Linked DNA regions of Homo sapiens: region 1 is linked to region 2. The links are contacts of gene promoters, found by promoter capture Hi-C in blood cells and fetal thymus (Javierre and others, 2016). All regions are on one chromosome and are shown on one strand. Each heading gives the region's core, a stretch centred on a gene start or on the middle of the fragment in contact. The rest is flanking DNA. Distances are from core to core; before and after follow the strand shown. Region 1 overlaps SORT1 (sortilin 1). Region 2 holds the start of SORT1 (sortilin 1).

Region 1 (3,660 bases), core at 959-3,458, 80 kb before region 2:
AGAACAGCAGAGAGGAGGGACTGCAGGTGATCCAGCTTGACCTCTCCTATTACGAATTGGGAAACGGGCCTGCTGTTGAGCATCTGAAGTCATGCTGCTGGTCTAGTGTTTCATTATCAAGAGGTTTCCTCTTTACACATCTCCAGTTCCACAGGTAGTTCAGTGCTACAGATTTGGATGCAGCCTCATAACCTTTTTTTTTTTTTTTTTTTTTTAAATTGAGACAGGATCTCACTCTGTCACCCAGGCTGGAGTGCAGTGATATGATCATGGCTCACTGCAGCCTTGACCTCCCAGGCTCAGGTGATTCTCTCCCTTCAGCCTCCTGAGTAGCTGGGACTACAGGCACACACCACCACATCCGGCTAATTTTTGTATTTTTTTTGTAAAGATGGAGTTTCTCCATGTTGCCCAGGCTGCTCTCCAATTCATAGCCTCAACTGATCTCCCCACCTCAGCCTCCCAAAGTGCTGGGACTATACAGGAGTAAGCCACCATGCCCGACAGGTAACTTGCTTCATTTAAATCAAAACCAGCCCATTACCATAGCTCAATTTTTCACTTTGAACATACTTAACATGACTTGGTCAGAGATCCACCCTACCTATTGCCCAGTGCTCTTCTCTTCCACACATGCACAATTCCAGGTCATGGCCCTTCACAGACAACCTTTTTTTTTTGGTACGGAGTCTTGCTCTGTTGCCCAGGTTGGAGTGTAGCAGCACGATCTCGGCTCACTGCAACCTCCACCTCCCAGGTTCACATGATTCTCCTACCTCAGCCTCCCGAGTAACTGGGACTACAGGCGTAAACCACCACACCCAGCTAATTTTTGTAATTTTAATTTTTGTATTTTTAGCAGAGACAGGGTTTCACCATGTTGGACAGCCTGGTCTTGAACTCCTGACCTCAGTGATCTGCCTGCCTTGGACTTCCAAAGTGCTGGGATTACAGGTGTGAGCCACTGTACCCAGCCCACAGACAACCTTTTTGTTTTCCTAAATGACTCTCAGCCTCAGAAATTTCCACAACTGTATGATTTTAAGAATTTTACAACTTTACAGAATATCATCCCCCAACCCTCAATAAGAAAAGAGCTTTCAGTAGGGTGAGCTTATCACTGGGTTACATGACCCATCCTTCATGCTAACAGCTTCCTGTATAAGGGAAGCCTGAGAGAAGTAGTTTGACCACTTTTTATCAGTAACAAAACTCTTGATGCTTTAACTTTGATTTTTCTTAGCAGAACACAAAATCCCATTTGTACCTGAAAACTAGACCTATTTTAACATACCTGTTTTTCCGGACTCAAAAAGTTGCTTGTGCATTTCTTTTTCAAGTCTTTTACTTCTCGAACTGGATTTACCCCACCCTGGCATTTGTCCCCTGGAATTTTCCGGTACCTACCAGGCAAAGAAGATTTGGTAACAGAAGATAAGGATGTATTCCTGGGTACCTGCCTATTTCTTGGAAACAAGATTTGAAAAGCTGCCGAAAAGCTTCCCATCCTTACGTCATGTTTCAGGCCTGGGGGGAATGTCCACAGGGATGTTTTGGGGGATATTTTGTGTAGTTTCAGGCCTTAAGCAAACTAAGCATCTCTGTCCCCTGCTGTCAGAAACATGCCTGTTCTTTCTACCTAAGAGACTGTGCCAAAGAAATCTGACCCCAAAAAAGCTCATTAACAAGTGGTACAAAATGGGAGAGGGGAAGTTATCAGGGGAGCGAGGTAATGAGGCCCGTCTAGAGCAGCACTGTCCAATATGGTGGCTACTTAAAATTGATTAAAACGAAAATTTCAGTTCCTCGGTTACACTAGTGTCCACAGCTATGTGTGGCTAGTGACTATCATATTGGGCACAGCAAATTACAGAACACTTCCATCACCAAAGAAAGTCCTATCAGACAGAGCTCTCCCTGGCTGTGCCTAAACTGTGCCAGACGAGCGATGGACGTTCATGGCGGATGGGACGCTTCTGTCATTCTGCCTGTGGGTCCCTCGCCTCTCCTCCCTTCCTGGGGGTGGTTGGGCGGGAGGCAGGGGTGCAGGATCTGGCCGAGCTTGTTCTCCTGCTCTGCCTCGTGGTGTTGGTGGGGTTGAGTCCTCTGACACCAAGCACTCATGGCTCACCTCCTGTAGTTGACCCTTGAAGGAGGCCTTCATATCCTGCCCCTCCCCAACCCCGCCAAAAATAGTGCTCTAAAGTAGGGCTTGGATCTCAGTGTGGAGAGAAGCAGCTTTCACTCTGAACAAGAACACCTCATCCATCGTGACAAGGGAGAAAAGGCCACCTCACCCATTTGTTGTTAGGTGTTCTTCTCTTCCGTACAGACAAAACTCCAGGTCGTGGCCCTTCAGTTCTGGCTGTTCCACACACTTGGAGTCATTTTCTGGACGGTAGTAGCCAAAATCACTGCAAGAGTCAGCAAATAAAGTACCTTTCAAAGCAGCTGGAAGACCGTTAAGTGACTAGCAATGAAGGGTTATGTGGGGTAGTGGATGGTTAACATTCCAGTCTTGGGTTGTTAGAAAGTAGCTCAGGAAGTCCTGTGACACCTCTGAAGGAGGTCGATTTAGGAAAACAGACACGGAGAGGGCCTTTTTTTTTTTTTTTTGAGATGGAGTCCCACTCTCTCGCCTAGGCTGGAGTGCAGTGGCGTGTTCTTGGCTCACTGCAACCTCCGCCTCCGGCTTCAAGCGACTCTCCTGCCTCAGCCTTCTGAGTAGCTGGGATTACAGGTGCATGCCACCATGCCTGGCTAATTTTTTATTTTTAGTAGAGAGAGCGTTTCACCATGTTGGTCAGGCTGGTCTCAAACTCCTGACCTTGTGATACGCCCACCTCGGCCTCCAAAAGTGCTGGGATTACAGGTGTGAGCCACCGTGCCCCGCCAGAGAGGGCCTTATTAAGGAAAAGAAGCTTATGGGTCAGGCCTGGTGGGGGTAGGACTAGCTAGGGCCCCAAGGCTGTGCACTGCAGGCAGCTCAGGCGCAGGGAGGTGACTGATGCAGCCTGCAGAGGGGTGGAGACTCACACAGAAACCTCAGCATCAGCAGCAGCTCTCAACTCAGGGATACTTGGCAATTCTTTTCTTTTCTTCCCCCTCCCCGCTTTTTTTTTGAGACAGGGTCTCGCTCTGTTGCCCAGGCTGGAGTACAGCGGCATGAACACTGTAGCTTCAACCATCTGGGCTCAAGTGATCTTTCCGCTTCAGCCTCCCAAGGAGCTGGAACCACATGCATGCACCACCATGCTCGTCTAATTCTTTGTAAAGATGAGGTCTTGACAAATTGCTCAGGCTTGTTTTGAACTACTGGGCTCAAGTGATCTGTCCACCTCAGCCTCCCAAAGTGCTGGCATTACAGGCGTGAACCACTGTGCCTTGCTAATTTTTGTATTTTCTGTAGAAAGAGTTTTGCCATATTGCCCAGCCTGATCTCAAACTCCTGAGCTCAAGAGATCCACCTGCCTCAGCCTCCCGAAGTATTGGGATTACAGGCATGAGTCACTGTGCCCAGCCAGCAATTCTTTTCTTTACCTCCAAATGTCATTATTATGTTGCCCTTGCAGTACACGGCAAATTTTTCTGTCTTCCCCACTTCTGTTCCTCTTAGCTTCTTAGATAGTCTTTGCCTTCCATGTGAACACCTTTTTCTGT
Region 2 (4,133 bases), core at 911-3,410:
TAACCAGGAAGACTCTGACTCAAGGAATAAATCCAGGCAGGGCATAGTGGCTCACGCCTCTAATCTCAGCACTGTGGCAGGCTAAGGTGGGTGGAGCACTTGAGCCCAGGAGTTCAAGACCAGCCTGGGGAACATGGCAAAACCCTGTTTCTTAAAAAAAGAAAGAAAGAAAGAAAAGAACAATTAGCTGGGTGCATGTACCAGTAGTCCCGGCTACTTGGGAGGCTGAGGTGAGAGGATCACTTGAGCCCAGGAGGTCAGGGCTGCAGTGAGCTGTGATCACACCACTGCATTCCAGCCTGGGCAACAGAGTGAGACCCTATCTCAAAAAAAAAATAGTAATTACACAAAAATTAGCTAGGCATAGTGGTGCACACCTGTAGTCCCAGCTACTCAGGAGGCTGAGGTAAGACTCTATCTCACAAAAAAAGAGAAAAAGAAAAACAGGAGTAAATCTAAATCCAGGAGTAGCAGCAGACCTAAAGTTAGGTCAACCAGCGAGAGAAGAATTTGAAATATGGAGCAAGAATGCTGTGACCAGCTAGCTCAAGGAAGGAAGTGGTCCAGTATAAATTAAGCATTAGTGTTGTAAAGCCTTTCTCAATCCCCCACTGTGAGAAGGAAGTCTATTCGATTTTTTTTTCTCATCAAGTAGGAAGACTTCCCAGTACTCATTCTACCCAACCTGTCTCACCCTCCAGCACTAGCTTGGCTACCTTTACACAGCTGCTGCTCGGGATACACTAAGCACAATTATTCCTGAATATTTGTGTCTTGTGTCCTCAGATCAGAGAATTCTATTACAGGTAACAAGTATGGTCCAGATAACCAGGCAGTCCAAAGGGAGACTGAGGCTTGGCTGACGCTGAAAAACGGTTACAGAAGGACAAGTGCTGGCACAGAGCCTTGGCCACCCATCTCTGCCCCCAAGTGCAATTCATTTTCTTTGAAAGAGGAAAACAGGCAAGGGAGAAAATATATAGAATTGAAAATACATTATGCAAATGTGGCTAGCAAGGATTAAATTGTTAATTTTAGAGAAATAGGAGAAAGATGCCCAAGTTGTGCTGAAGCAAGGAACCAGGACTTTCTTAATAATTAGTTTTGTCAGTCCAGTAGTGTGCAAAGGTTGAGCTGCTTGTCCCCAGGGACAGAAATCCCATAATTTTGAAAGTCTTTTGACCAAGAGCTGGCTCAAAGCAGAATATGTGCAATGCGTTTCTTAACTATTGAAAATCTTGTCACCACGGGATATAGACATGCTAGTCAGACTTCCGTACCATGACAGAAGGTCAAATCTGAAGCAGTAAAAGAGATCACATAAATATTGCCATCTCATTTCCAAGCTAGTCCCCTTAACTATTAAAACACGGTGACCAGATCGCTGCTTCGGGCCTCCTGAACTCCCGCCTCTCCCACCCGGAAAGTACTGACCCAGAGAGGACACACCTTTGCTTCTGCGCAGCCCAACTTCTGCAAGCGCTCAAGAGTTAATTACTCCTTCACCTTCCTGGGGCCTAACAGCGTTACTGGGTCCTGATTATTTATACAGACGAAAAACGATGTTCAAGAGATTTTGACAACTTAAAAAAAAAAAAAAGAATGCGGTGGAAGTCTAAGATTGCCTCCCCTATGACAAAACACAGCCCCGCCGGCCGCCCGGGCCCGACTCCGCCCGCCCGCCCGCCGCAGTTTCGGGGCTGCGGCCCGGGGGACGCGGGCGCGGCAGGGCTGGGGTCTCCTCCGGGAGTCGCGGGGCGCACGGGCCGGGAGGGGCACGCGGGCGGCACCTCGCACCCGAGCGGCTCCCGGGCCCGGCGCCCGCTCACCTGGTGCGTGTTGTTGGCCAGCTTGGCGACGAAGTCCCGGACCCGGCCGCACTCCTCGTCCTCGCCCGGCGCGCTGCGACGCCAACGGCCGCCGCGGGGAAACGCGCCCCCGGCTGCGGCCGCCCGCAGCCCCCAGCTCACCCCGATGGGGCCAGACCAGCGCGGCAGCGGCGCAGCGGGCGGCGGCGGCGCGTCCAGCCGGTCCTGGCTGAGGGTCGACGGCGGCAGCAGCTGCAGGAGGAGGAGGAGGCCGAGGCCATGGGGCCAGCGCGAGAGGCCGTCCGCAGCTCCCCAGGGCCGCTCCATCGCCGCCGAATGCCGCCGACGCCGACACCTGCCGCCCGGCGCGCCCGCCCACCCCCGCCGGCGCGCGCCACACCCCCGAGCCGAGCGCGGCGCTCCTTGGATACGCGCGGCCGGGCCTCTCCGCCCCATAGGCTGGCCGCCTGTCCCTCTTCCCCGGCCCACTCCTCATTGGCTCGCGTCGCCTCCGGCTTCGGGGGTCCTGGATTCGGATGCTAAGATGCGGGACTGATTGGCTGGAACGGGGCAGAGACTGCTGAGGTCAACCCCGCCTCGCCCGGCGTCTCCCGGGCCCGGCTTGTGGAGTTCACGTAGGAGCTTCTCATACCTTCCCGCCGAGCCCCGGGCTCCTGGCGTCGCGACCCCTTGCCGCACCTCTAGCGCCCTCAAGTTGGGGCTGGGTTACGTCCCTCCTGTTCCCCAGAGACACTCCTAAAATTCCTTCGGTGAGGCAGAGCCTGGAAAAACCTACCCAGGAAATCCCTGAGCTTGCTCAGCTGGAAAAGGGGGCTCCATCATGAACCGGGGCTTCGGGTTTTTATAAACCCCGCTCACTGGAGCGCCCATTGTCTGCTAAGCAGCTGCCTTGCTGCAAGAAGGTGAATGCGAACTGATGTGGGCCACATCCTACGGAGACAGACATCAGGACATCCGTGACTCCTGCAAGCCTGAAGAATAGTCTTTCCATACGTTTGGCCTCTCTCACCTTCCTCTTCTGAGGGGAGGTAGGCCAAAGGCGGAATTACTTACAGGTTTTCCAGGACTTCGAATGTAGCTTAGGCATTAGGGGCAGGTAAAAGAGGGGCAAGAGAATGATCCAATGCCTACTGTACACATGATCATTTCCTAGATGCACATTTATTTTACCAAAGTGCCTTAACTCTGCAGTGAGAGCTTCGGACAAGTTTGGTTCCAGTATGTGATGTCCTCTAAATTAGCACCCCGATCCACCTCTAATGAATAAAATAAAACCCCTACGCTGTTCCCTTTACCGCAGAAGCTGCACACACAACTTCTACAACACGTAGCACAGGTAAAACCAGTTCTGAATCCTTAAGCTTACTGACTCCATCCCTTCAGAAAGCTAGAAATTGTTCAGTAGAAAAGGTAGCAAATAGAAAGATACAAAATATGCAAGTCATTACACTCAAAGCAAGTAAAGATTACTTTTAATTATAAACTGGCCATAAACCCAAATGAGGATATAGTCATTGTAGAGCAAAATGATACAATGCACCCAACCCGATATTTACATTAAAATATTTCCAGTCACATTAACTTTCAAACAAAAAGACTTAACGAATTTACAAATTTTTCCAAGACGTGAGAAGTGAAAAATGTTTTTGAATGCCATCTGAGCAGGATAGTAAAATCACTAGAATAGTCTTTTTAAGTTCTCAGTTACTGGACTGAAAAGATAAAGCTGATGAAAATTGGTGAACAATTTGTTCCTTTCCATAACTACTATCAGATTAATTTAAAAAAGATTATTTTTAAATCTATGCCAACTATGGGAGTAGATCACAAGACAGTCAGTTCCAGTAGCATGTGATTAGGTGGGGGGAGGAAAGGGGGTTATAAAGGAATATTTCTTTGTTTGGGTGACACAAAGATGAATGGTCTATTGTCTTACTGTCTGAAAAGAAAAAACAACTCAACAGTGCCACCTCCTGGAGAAATTACCAAATACACTTTTAAACGCTATTAAATTTGTTCCAATTATCTGTACCTTCACTTTTTAGTATGTTGCTTTTAGTTATCACAGGCTTACAGTACTTATATATTTCCTTCTTCAAACTGTATCAGCTTCTGGGACATGGTAACTTGCATATGGCACTGAGAAAATGTTTGAGTGAATATATTTATTATTTCACTTTTTAAATTGGAAACCCTAGGAACTATATTTCATTTTTGTCTAATGAGATTGACATTAAATATAAAAGTGGCACTGTCAGTTCTCCTTTGTGAGATACTGGACATAAGATTTCACCTTATTTGCAG

The links. Contacts are between HindIII fragments. The CHiCAGO score rates a contact against its expected background, and 5 or more counts as called.
Region 1: a contact is called between a fragment that was not itself captured here and the fragment with the promoter of SORT1 in region 2, in 4 of 17 cell types (M2 macrophages, M0 macrophages, M1 macrophages and 1 more). The highest score is 6.8, in M2 macrophages.

Annotation. Positions count from the first base shown.
Region 1 is chr1:109,315,556-109,319,215 of GRCh38, forward strand. SORT1 (sortilin 1) reads right to left here. Exons shown (of 20, transcript NM_002959.7): 16 at 2,298-2,414; 17 at 1,295-1,403. Among named protein-coding and RNA genes, the nearest start is that of MYBPHL, 10 kb to the left of the region's middle. The HindIII fragment of the contact is 1,422 bases long and covers 1,498-2,919 here.
Region 2 is chr1:109,395,758-109,399,890 of GRCh38, forward strand. It overlaps SORT1 (sortilin 1), which reads right to left and starts at 2,161. Exons shown (of 20, transcript NM_002959.7): 1 at 1,830-2,161. The coding sequence starts at 2,135. It overlaps PSMA5 (proteasome 20S subunit alpha 5), which reads right to left. Exons shown (of 9, transcript NM_002790.4): 9 at 3,285-4,133. RefSeq lists silencers at 1,938-2,037, 2,048-2,117, 2,158-2,287 and an enhancer at 2,314-3,295. The HindIII fragment of the contact is 10,275 bases long and covers 1-3,188 here.